Linked DNA regions of Homo sapiens: region 2 is linked to region 1. Evidence: promoter capture Hi-C in human tissues and cell types (Jung and others, 2019). All regions are on one chromosome and are shown on one strand. Each heading gives the region's core, a stretch centred on a gene start or on the middle of the fragment in contact. The rest is flanking DNA. Distances are from core to core; before and after follow the strand shown.

Region 1 (4,286 bases), core at 580-3,079:
CCCTGAAGACCGAACTCCCTTGAGCCTTTGGGGGCCACTGCAGCTACTTGCATCTCTTCCTTCATTCTTTTGTACCTGGGCGCTTCCAGTCCCCCATGCAACTCCTTTTCTGGCTTCAGCCTGACACAAAGTCCAACCAGTCTGAAATTCCAACTCCTCTCCAAGTGCTAAAACGCACAACCCCCAATTCCTGGGGCTTCCTCAAAAGAAACCATGGCCCCTGGAGGCACCCTCAGGAAGAGGTCAAGACAGGGAACACTCACCCCGGGCAGACAACTTCTTGGTATTGATGATTTTTGCTGCGTACTCCTGCGTGGAGGTTTTCTTCACACACCTGCGGACCACAGAGAAAGCACCCCTGGAGGGAGAAGGGGAAAAGAACTGGGACACGGAGCAGGGCAGAGTGACACAGACACACTTCAAGTCTGGGGACGATGATGCTCCCACCACCAGACCTCTAGTCACACTCACGTACATGCACACACACCGGCGCTGTGACCACCACCATCCAACATGAGGCAAAAGGACGCGGCCACCGCAGGACACTGAACAGATGTGGGTGGCGTGCCGCGCTCCCACCCCCTCATCCAGTCCCTGGGCAAGGCAACAGCCTCCACCTCAGGCTGCACATCAGGAGCGGGTGGGCGATGCTGAAAACACACACCTGCTGCATCTCAGACAGCCCTGCGGTCCCGGCCAAGAGAACCAGGGCAGAAGGGAGCAGAGAGACCCTGCCCTTCTCTCAGCAGGAACAGTTGAAGGTCGGGGAAGGAAAGATTAAAAAGAGGGTATCATCCCCTGAAAGAGAAATCTCCCTCAACCATGGGGCAAAGTGAGGCTCAAACCCCCCCACAGCCGGTTTCATCTCACTGCATCCCGGCTCAACTGACAGCAAGGGAAGAGAGGACACAGTCAGACATCAAGAACTCCCCTTCCCATGCTATTTTCCTTGACGTCCCCGTCAAACGGGAGCTCGCACTCTGAGCTCTGGAAACGTCTGGGGGGGCGGGCGGGGCGGGGGCTGCAGTGGCCGGGCTCGGCGCCGCGGGTGGGGGTGGGGGGCCGGGGCTGCTGCAGCGGCCAGCTCAGTGCGGAGGGGAGGGGGATGCTGAGGCTGCGGCGCGGCTCCCGGGACCACTGCAGGGGTGGGGGGAGGGGACGGGGGTGCCGCAGCACTGCCCAGCCGCGGGGCTGGGAGCCTGGAGCGGCACCCGCGGGGGGCGGGGCCGGGCGCCAAACAGCCCCCCCACGCCCGGGCTCCGCAGCAGAGCTAGGGCTGCAGGGCTGGGGAGGGTCCTGAGTGCGAGGCGCGTGGGACCTGGGTTCAGGGTGCGGAGTGAGCAACCGGGCAGCGTTGGGAGGTGGTCGGGAGGGGGGCGCCTGAAGGGTGCGGAGGGGCGGGGCTGGAGGGCACCCGGGAGCGGTCCGGGGTCTGCGGTGTCCGCGGCGGCGCGTGGGGAGCAGCGGCCCCGCCAGTTGCTGCAGGGCGCGGAGGGGGATGCGGGGCAGTGCGCGGGGGGCGCGGGGACCGAAGGCGGCGGGCGGGAAAGGCGGGGGTGGGGCGGCCGAGGGGGAGCCGCAGCGGCCGGTGCAGGGCCGGGGGGCGGGGCGAGAAGCCGCATAGCTCCCGGGCGGCAGGGCAGGCAGGGGACCGCGGCGGGCGGGCCGTACTTGCCAAGCTCCTCGAAGAGCTGGTAGTCGTCGGTGAAACGGGTGCAGGTGGCGGTGGTGGCCATGCTGGCGGGCGGGCGGACGCGGCGGTGCAGCCCGCGCCGACGTCGGTGCACAGTCACCGCCGCCCGGCCGAGGGAGCAAGAGGAGGAGACGGGGCTGAGCCCGGCAGCACCGCGAGACTTTACCGGGGAGAGCGAGGGAGGGAGGGACACCCCCGCGCCGCCCGCCCCGCCCCGCCCCCAGGCCCCGCCAGTCCCCCCCCCCGCCCGGCCCCCGGCCCGCCCCCGGGGAGGGGCCTCCCGCCGCCGGCCCCGCCCCGCCCCGGAGCCGCCCTCGCTGGGCCAGGCGCGCGGGGCAGCCGAGGGGAGGGGGTCCCCGCTCCGGGCCACCTGTCTGGGCAGACGGAGCTGGAAGGTTCGCGACTTATGGGCTTGTCCCGGGGCGGACCCCGCGCGGGCTCGGGAACGTGCATGCGAGGGTGCATGTGTTAGGAGTGTAGGAGTCTGGACCACTGACCTCTCTGGACGGGTCCTACACGCGGGTCCCGAGCCCCCAACCGGGCTCCTAGCACGTGGGGAGAGAGCCAAGGTCAAGGAGCCTGTGCCAGGCTGCACGCCCGGGAGGCGCCCCCAGCCTGCGCAGAGCCAGCTGCCAGCCGCCTTCCCTCTGGGAGCTGACAGTCTAGACTTGCGCAAGCACCAGGGCCATTATTAGAAAGAAACCCTTCAGGCGCGGGTTGATCAGGGAGACCAGGCCAGGGGCAAGGATACAGGTAGGACTCTGCCTTCCTGCACCATAACTGCAGAGATGAAAGAGTATTCTCTATCCGGCCAGAAATGAAAGGGGTGAAGTAGGAAGACTTGAAAAGGCTTTGTGCAGTGGGGGCTAGAAGAGAAAGTGGAAGAAAGGGGAAATCCCCATTTTCTTGCAAGGCACCCTCGTACTTTTATTTTCTGGCACCTACCACATTTTGTAGTGATGCATTGACTGGTATAAGGGGCAGTAGAGCTATCTCATAGCTGTCTAAGCGTGAACTTGCATCAAACTGCCTGGATTGGATTTCTAGGCAACTCACTGATCAGCTCTGTGACCTGGGGTAAGTCACTGAATCTTTTTTTTGAGACGGAGTCTTGCGCTGTTGCCCGGGCTGGAGTGCAGTGGTGCGATCTTGGCTCACTGCAGCCTCCACCTCCTGGGTTCAAGCGATTCTCCTGCCTCAGCCTCCCGAGTAGCTGGGATTATGGGCGCGCGCCACCACGCTCGGCTAATTTTTTTGTATTTTTAGTACAGACGGGGCTTCATTATGTTGTAGTAATGAAGTATGTATGTAGTACATACATGAAGTAATGAAGTATGTATGTAGTACAGAGGTGGCTTCATGAGCCACCTCGCCCGGCTGGGAACAATAATATTACCTACCTCATAGGCCTGTCAGCATTAAATGGTCTAAGGCACTTAGAATAGTACTTGGTGCCTAATTAGAACTACATTTGCTGGGCCGGGCGTGGTGGCTCATACCTGTAATCCCAGCACTTTGGGAGGCTGAGGCGGGTGGATCATGAGGTCAGGAGTTCGAGACCAGCCTGGCCAACATGGTGAAATCCTGTCTCTACTAAAAATACAAAAACTAGCTTCCCGCTGAATTGTAGGCTCCAATAAAGCGGGGCCTCTGCACCTTTTGTTCACCATTGTACACTCAGCCCCTGACCCTCAGTAAATATTTGTGGGATGGCAGAGGGAGATACCATCCCTTCTCCTGTCCCCACCATCACAAGTTGGTGGGACAGAGGCACATAACTGTCTTGATGGGGGACAAACAGGCTGGGCAGGTTCCTGACCTGCCTGGGCAGCTGTCCCCTGAGGCTGAGGCCAGCCCCAACTGGGCAGGGTGGAGCTCAGCCAGAGGCTGCCACTCAGTCTTGATTACAGCAGGACGCCCACTGGGAGTCGGGTCTCCCTCGCCAGCAGGCTCGCTCTGCCAGAGGAGGGGGCTGAGAGGTGTCCCAGCCTCCCAAGCTGCCTCCCTGAGGGGTGGGTGGGGCAGAGCTCTCCAGGAGTGCTCCCCTCCTGTCCTGACCCAACAGCCCTGAGAGCTGCTTTGGGAACCAGACTGCCCAGTAGGGGTGATTAGGGAATGGGAGGGCATGAAGCCCTAAAGGAAAAGCATTAGCAGTTCTCTTGGGAGAAGGGTAGAGAGGGCCAAGGGAAAGGGTAGCAGTGCCAGAGCACCATGCCCTACCCCTCCCCAGGGCAACAGGAGGTAAAGTGGAGAGTAAGGCCACTTCCTATCTCAAAGCACCTGGGTGAGAGCCAGGTCCCAAGTCCCAGTGTGGGGTAGGGCAATGAGATTGCATACATGGGGATGCCAGTAAGTGTTGAGTTTCTGTCATCCATCTCCAAAGCAGAAGCAACTTTGAATATCAGTTGATCATCAATGTGCCCTTCCTAAGTGCTCAAGGCAACTTGCTTCCTGACCTCCAGGCTGATACTTGAAACTTTCTATTCATGAATGGAAGGTGGAGTGGAGGAGACCCTGAGAGGTCAGAACAAGCACAGAGGAGGGCTGCCATGGAGTCCCCTAGGAGTATCCTGGGGCAAATGTAAAACAGGAC
Region 2 (4,286 bases), core at 519-3,018, 330 kb after region 1:
GTGCCTGTAATCCCAGATACTCGGGAGGCTGAGGCAGGAGAATCGGGTGAACCTGGGAGGCGGAGGTTGCAGTAAGCTGAGATTGCACCACTGCACTCCAGCCAGTGTGACAGCCTGAGAATCTGTCTCAAAAAAAAAAAAAAAAAAAAGAAATGTAATTAGAGTAATTCACTATAGTAAGAAACTAACATAACAGTCTAAGAAAACTCCATATAATTATCTCAATAGACAAAGAAAAACCTTTTGACAAAATCTAATATCTATTCCTGATGAAAAAAAATAACTTAAAGCAACCTAGGTAACTATGTCGATAACTTTCTTAACCCTATAAAGGTTACGTTAGGGGAAAACTGGTAGTGTGATGCTTATATGGGTATATAACGTATCAAATTGTATACTTTAAATGTCTACAGTTTATTGTATGTCAGTTATATATCAAAGGCTGTAATAAACAGAAAATAAAATCAGTTGGACATGAATTCATGGGTTTAAAATTAGATCTCTTTTGTTTGTGTAGTGTGAGATATTTTGTTCAGGAAGTCAACTAATTCATGGTCACTATTTTAAAAAAATCATGATGTATAAAAGTAAAGAGCAACTTAAAAATTTGAAATTTTATCGTGTATTTCAAAAGTAAAATAAAGTATAGAGACAAACCCATAAATGTAGAACATTTTATATGGGAAGCAAGAATTGAAATTTGGGATATACACACAGACCAGGTGGTCTTTGCTATGTCTGAAGAAGAAAGATAAGATTGGAAGTTTTATAAAAAGGTGAAATGTTTTGTATTGTTTTGAAAGAAAGCTCATTGGCACTAGTTTTGGGGAGGTGGCAAGCTTTGATTGGTGAGTGACTGCAGTGAGTAGAACTAGTCTTTTAGAGTCACAGCTCATTGTTTCAGTAGCTACTGGATAAAACTGTTTTCAGATGACAACAGGCAGTTTCAGCAGCCAGGCTTGCAGAGAATTACCTTCTTGGAGCAATGTTATGTGTGCTGAGTGCTCTTCCCCCCAGCCTGTCACCTGTTTTAGTCAGATATGACAAGAATGACCCAATTTATATGATTAGCTTTCACACATATATAATCAGTGTTGTTATTTTGGTGAACATGCCTCCAGATGTTTGTTAGGCATATATAACCTGAAGATGAATGTTTATGGGCTAATACTATGTGTAGTCTTTGTTAGTATGCTGTTTTTCACTCAACATTATGTTTTTGGATCACTGTTTTTAAAATTTCAGGCAAATGTGATCAGAGTGATTATGACTTGGCAGCTGTGTGATGATGTCACAGGATCCTTAGGGTGTCGCTTTTCCAGCCAGAAGCCACTGTGGTTGGTGGAGCCTTTGCCTGAGGTTTGCTTGTGCCTGCCAGGCTTGTTCTGCTTGTTTGGCCTGGCAGGCTGCGTTCGGCTCATGCTACCAGCCTGGATCCCACACCTGCCAAGGGCGAGCCAGGTGCAGAGTGGCGTGGCAAAGAGTGTGTGAGCAAGCGAATATGGGATCTGGCCACTGTGTACAGCCACTCATGCTGGCTGCTGTGGTGGGGTGGGCATCTCCAGGCACTGGCACAGGTGCTGGCTTCATGCAAGCTTGCGGCTGGATCTGATGCATCTCAAGTGGCTTCCACTGTAGGAACCCACGTCTGGACGAGGATAATATGGTGGTGCCCAGAAGCTTGGAGACACCAGAAACCACAGAGCCCCAAAGAGAGTGTCACAGCCCTGGATTGGGAACCCCCTAGGTCTGGGCTCTCAGAAGGGCTGCAGCTCTTCTTTCCTTCTTGTTGCCTGCAAGGTGCTGAGTGGGGTGAGGCATATTTTAGCTCTGTTTGTGTTACAGCTGTTTCAGTCCTGCCACTTGGTGGGTCTTCTTATCCTGCATCCATGAACAGTGAGGTATGGGGACAACTGGAGGGTGAGCAAGGTGGAGAGGAGCTTCATTGAGCAACAGAACAGCTCTCAGGAGACCCGAAGTGGGTAGCTCCTTTCTGCAGGCAGGTCGTCCTGACAAGTGTTCACCTCTCAGTGAGATGAGACCCCGAGGGGGTAACTCCTTTCCACAGTTGGTAGTCCCAGGTCTCTTCTGTAAGTCTGGCTGAGTCCAGGGTTTTTAATGGGCTTCACAAGGGAGAAGTGTGTGCTGATTGGTCCATGGGCGGCTATGGGTGGGTCTGGAAAAAGCACCATGAGTCTCACTCCCCTCAGTGGACCCCACCTGGAACTGATAGCCTGGCCCCCATGCTTCAGGCTGTCCCTGGCTTGAAGGCAGGGCTTCACCTGAACCCACCCCTTTTTTCCCAGGAGAGTGTCTGCCTCCTGCTGCCATCAATCATGTTGTCCACAGTGTGCAGGCTGTTGGTGATGAGGGTACTTGCTGGCCCCATTGAGCTGCCCTCAGTCCCACCTTGGCCTCCTTCCCATGCTTCTCTGCACCTAAAGTCCAGAGGGGGCTGAGGGGGCAGGGGGCTGGTATGTCAGTGCTGCCCCGAGCACATGCACACCTGCTGGGTTGTGACAGTGCCTGGGCTTGGCCACGACTTTGCTCCACCCTGGAGCAGGTGCTGGGATCGAGGAGAGGCCAGGCATGGGAACAGGCACTTCTGAGTCTGCAGGGGAAAGGGGGACTTCCCGGGCCCCAGAGAGTGCAGGGATACCTGGGTCCACAGCCATGGCTGGGTGGCTGCAGCTGCACTCAGGAGGGTGGGGCTCCAGCCCTGCCAACTTGGAAGTGGGTGTGGCTCCCACCTGTTCCCAGCTCCCATGGGCTCTGTGGAGCATGCAGCCCTGGCTGCATCTCCCCAATTGTAGCCAGTGTCTTTGCAGCAGCTGCTCTAGACAGCCTGCTGCTGCCATCAATGACGCTGCTGGGAGCTCGAGTAACTTCTTTGTTTTACATGTTTTACTAGCAGCTGGTCCTAAGTGGCTAGCTGAAGTTCTATTTTATATTTGGAAGGTTTTAATCTTTAACTTTGATTTTCAAATAAGTACTTGAAGATAAAAAACAAGTCTTTGGACCCTAACAATAAAAGAGTCTTCTCTATTGTTACTCCTGGCTATTTCTTCCAAATATATTTAAAAACTTACCTTATGATATAAACGAATCGTGTTTAGCCTACATTTTGAGCCACCATTAGATAAGTATTTAGATAAGTACTATGTATATATATATTTTTTATTTTTTTATTTTTTTATTTTTTATTTTTGAGTTGGAGTCTTGCTCTGTCACCCAAGCTGCAGTGCAGTGGCGCAATCTCAGCTCACTGCAACCTCTGCCTCCCAGGTTCAAGCGATCCTCTTGCCTCAGCTTCCCGAGTAGCTGGAACTACAGGCATGTGCCACCATGCCCGGCTAATTTTTGCAGTTTTAGTAGAGACAGGGTTTCACCATGTTGGCCAGGGTGGTCTCGAACTCCTGACCTCTGGTGATCTGCCCACCTCGGTCTCCCAAAGTGCTGGGATTACAGGCATGAGCCACCGCACCCAGCATAGATAAGTGGTATATTGCTATGGTTTGAATGATGGTATCCTCTCCAAAAATTCATGTTGAAACTTATCCCCAGTGTAGCAGTATAAGAAGTGTGACTCTTGGGGGTTGACCAAGTTATGAAGGCTCTGCTCTTATGAATGGGGTTAGCACACTTGTGAAAGGACTCAAGGTTGAAGGGAGAGCTCTCCTGCCTTTACATTCCTTCTGTCATGTGAGGACACAGTGTTCCTCCCCTCTGGAGGATGCAGCAACAAGGTTCCATGTTAGAAGCAGAGAAAAGCCTCGCCAGACACCAATCTTGCTGGTGCCTTAACCGTGGATTTCCCAGCCTCCAGGAATGTGAGAAATATATTTCTATTGTTTACAAATTACCCCAAACAAAATAAGAAAAATAAAACAACAACAAAACATAAGTAAGTAAATAAATAAATAGCCTGGTCTGTGGTATTTTTGTTATAGCAGCACAAGGGGACCAAGACATATACCAAATGAATGAGATATATACTGATTAGTATCTTACACTGTGAAAGTGAGTTCTAATTGTCAAAATTCATTTGATAAAATATTTTTCTGATTCTGATTTTTTTTTTTTTAGAGACAAGTTTTTCTGTTTCCCAGACTGGAGTGCAGTAGCACAATCATAGCCTAGTCACTCACTGCAGCCTCAAACTCCTGTCCCTCCCACCAAAAAAAGAATTGAAAGTTATTAGGAACACCTGTGGCAGAAAGTACATTATTGAAAAGAATCTTTTCTAGTAAACTGTAGGGACACAGTGGGCATGAGGGGATAGGAAA

What was found. Contacts are between HindIII fragments. The study calls those that stand out against the background at their distance.
Region 2: a fragment that was not itself captured here is called in contact with the fragment with the promoter of CAMK2G in region 1 in 3 of the 25 tissues and cell types used here (adrenal gland, lymphoblastoid cells and mesenchymal stem cells).

What each region holds. Positions count from the first base shown.
Region 1 is chr10:73,872,726-73,877,011 of GRCh38, forward strand. It overlaps CAMK2G (calcium/calmodulin dependent protein kinase II gamma), which reads right to left and starts at 1,830. Exons shown (of 23, transcript NM_001367534.1): 1 at 1,672-1,830; 2 at 264-358. The coding sequence starts at 1,736. RefSeq lists silencers at 1,223-1,282, 1,543-1,712, 1,773-1,932, 1,943-2,222 and an enhancer at 2,443-2,552. The HindIII fragment of the contact is 10,637 bases long and covers 1-4,286 here.
Region 2 is chr10:74,205,547-74,209,832 of GRCh38, forward strand. The region is part of intron 2 of ADK (adenosine kinase); the gene reads left to right. Among named protein-coding and RNA genes, the nearest start is that of ADK, 56 kb to the left of the region's middle. RefSeq lists enhancers at 932-1,464, 1,465-1,995. The HindIII fragment of the contact is 5,622 bases long and covers 1-4,286 here.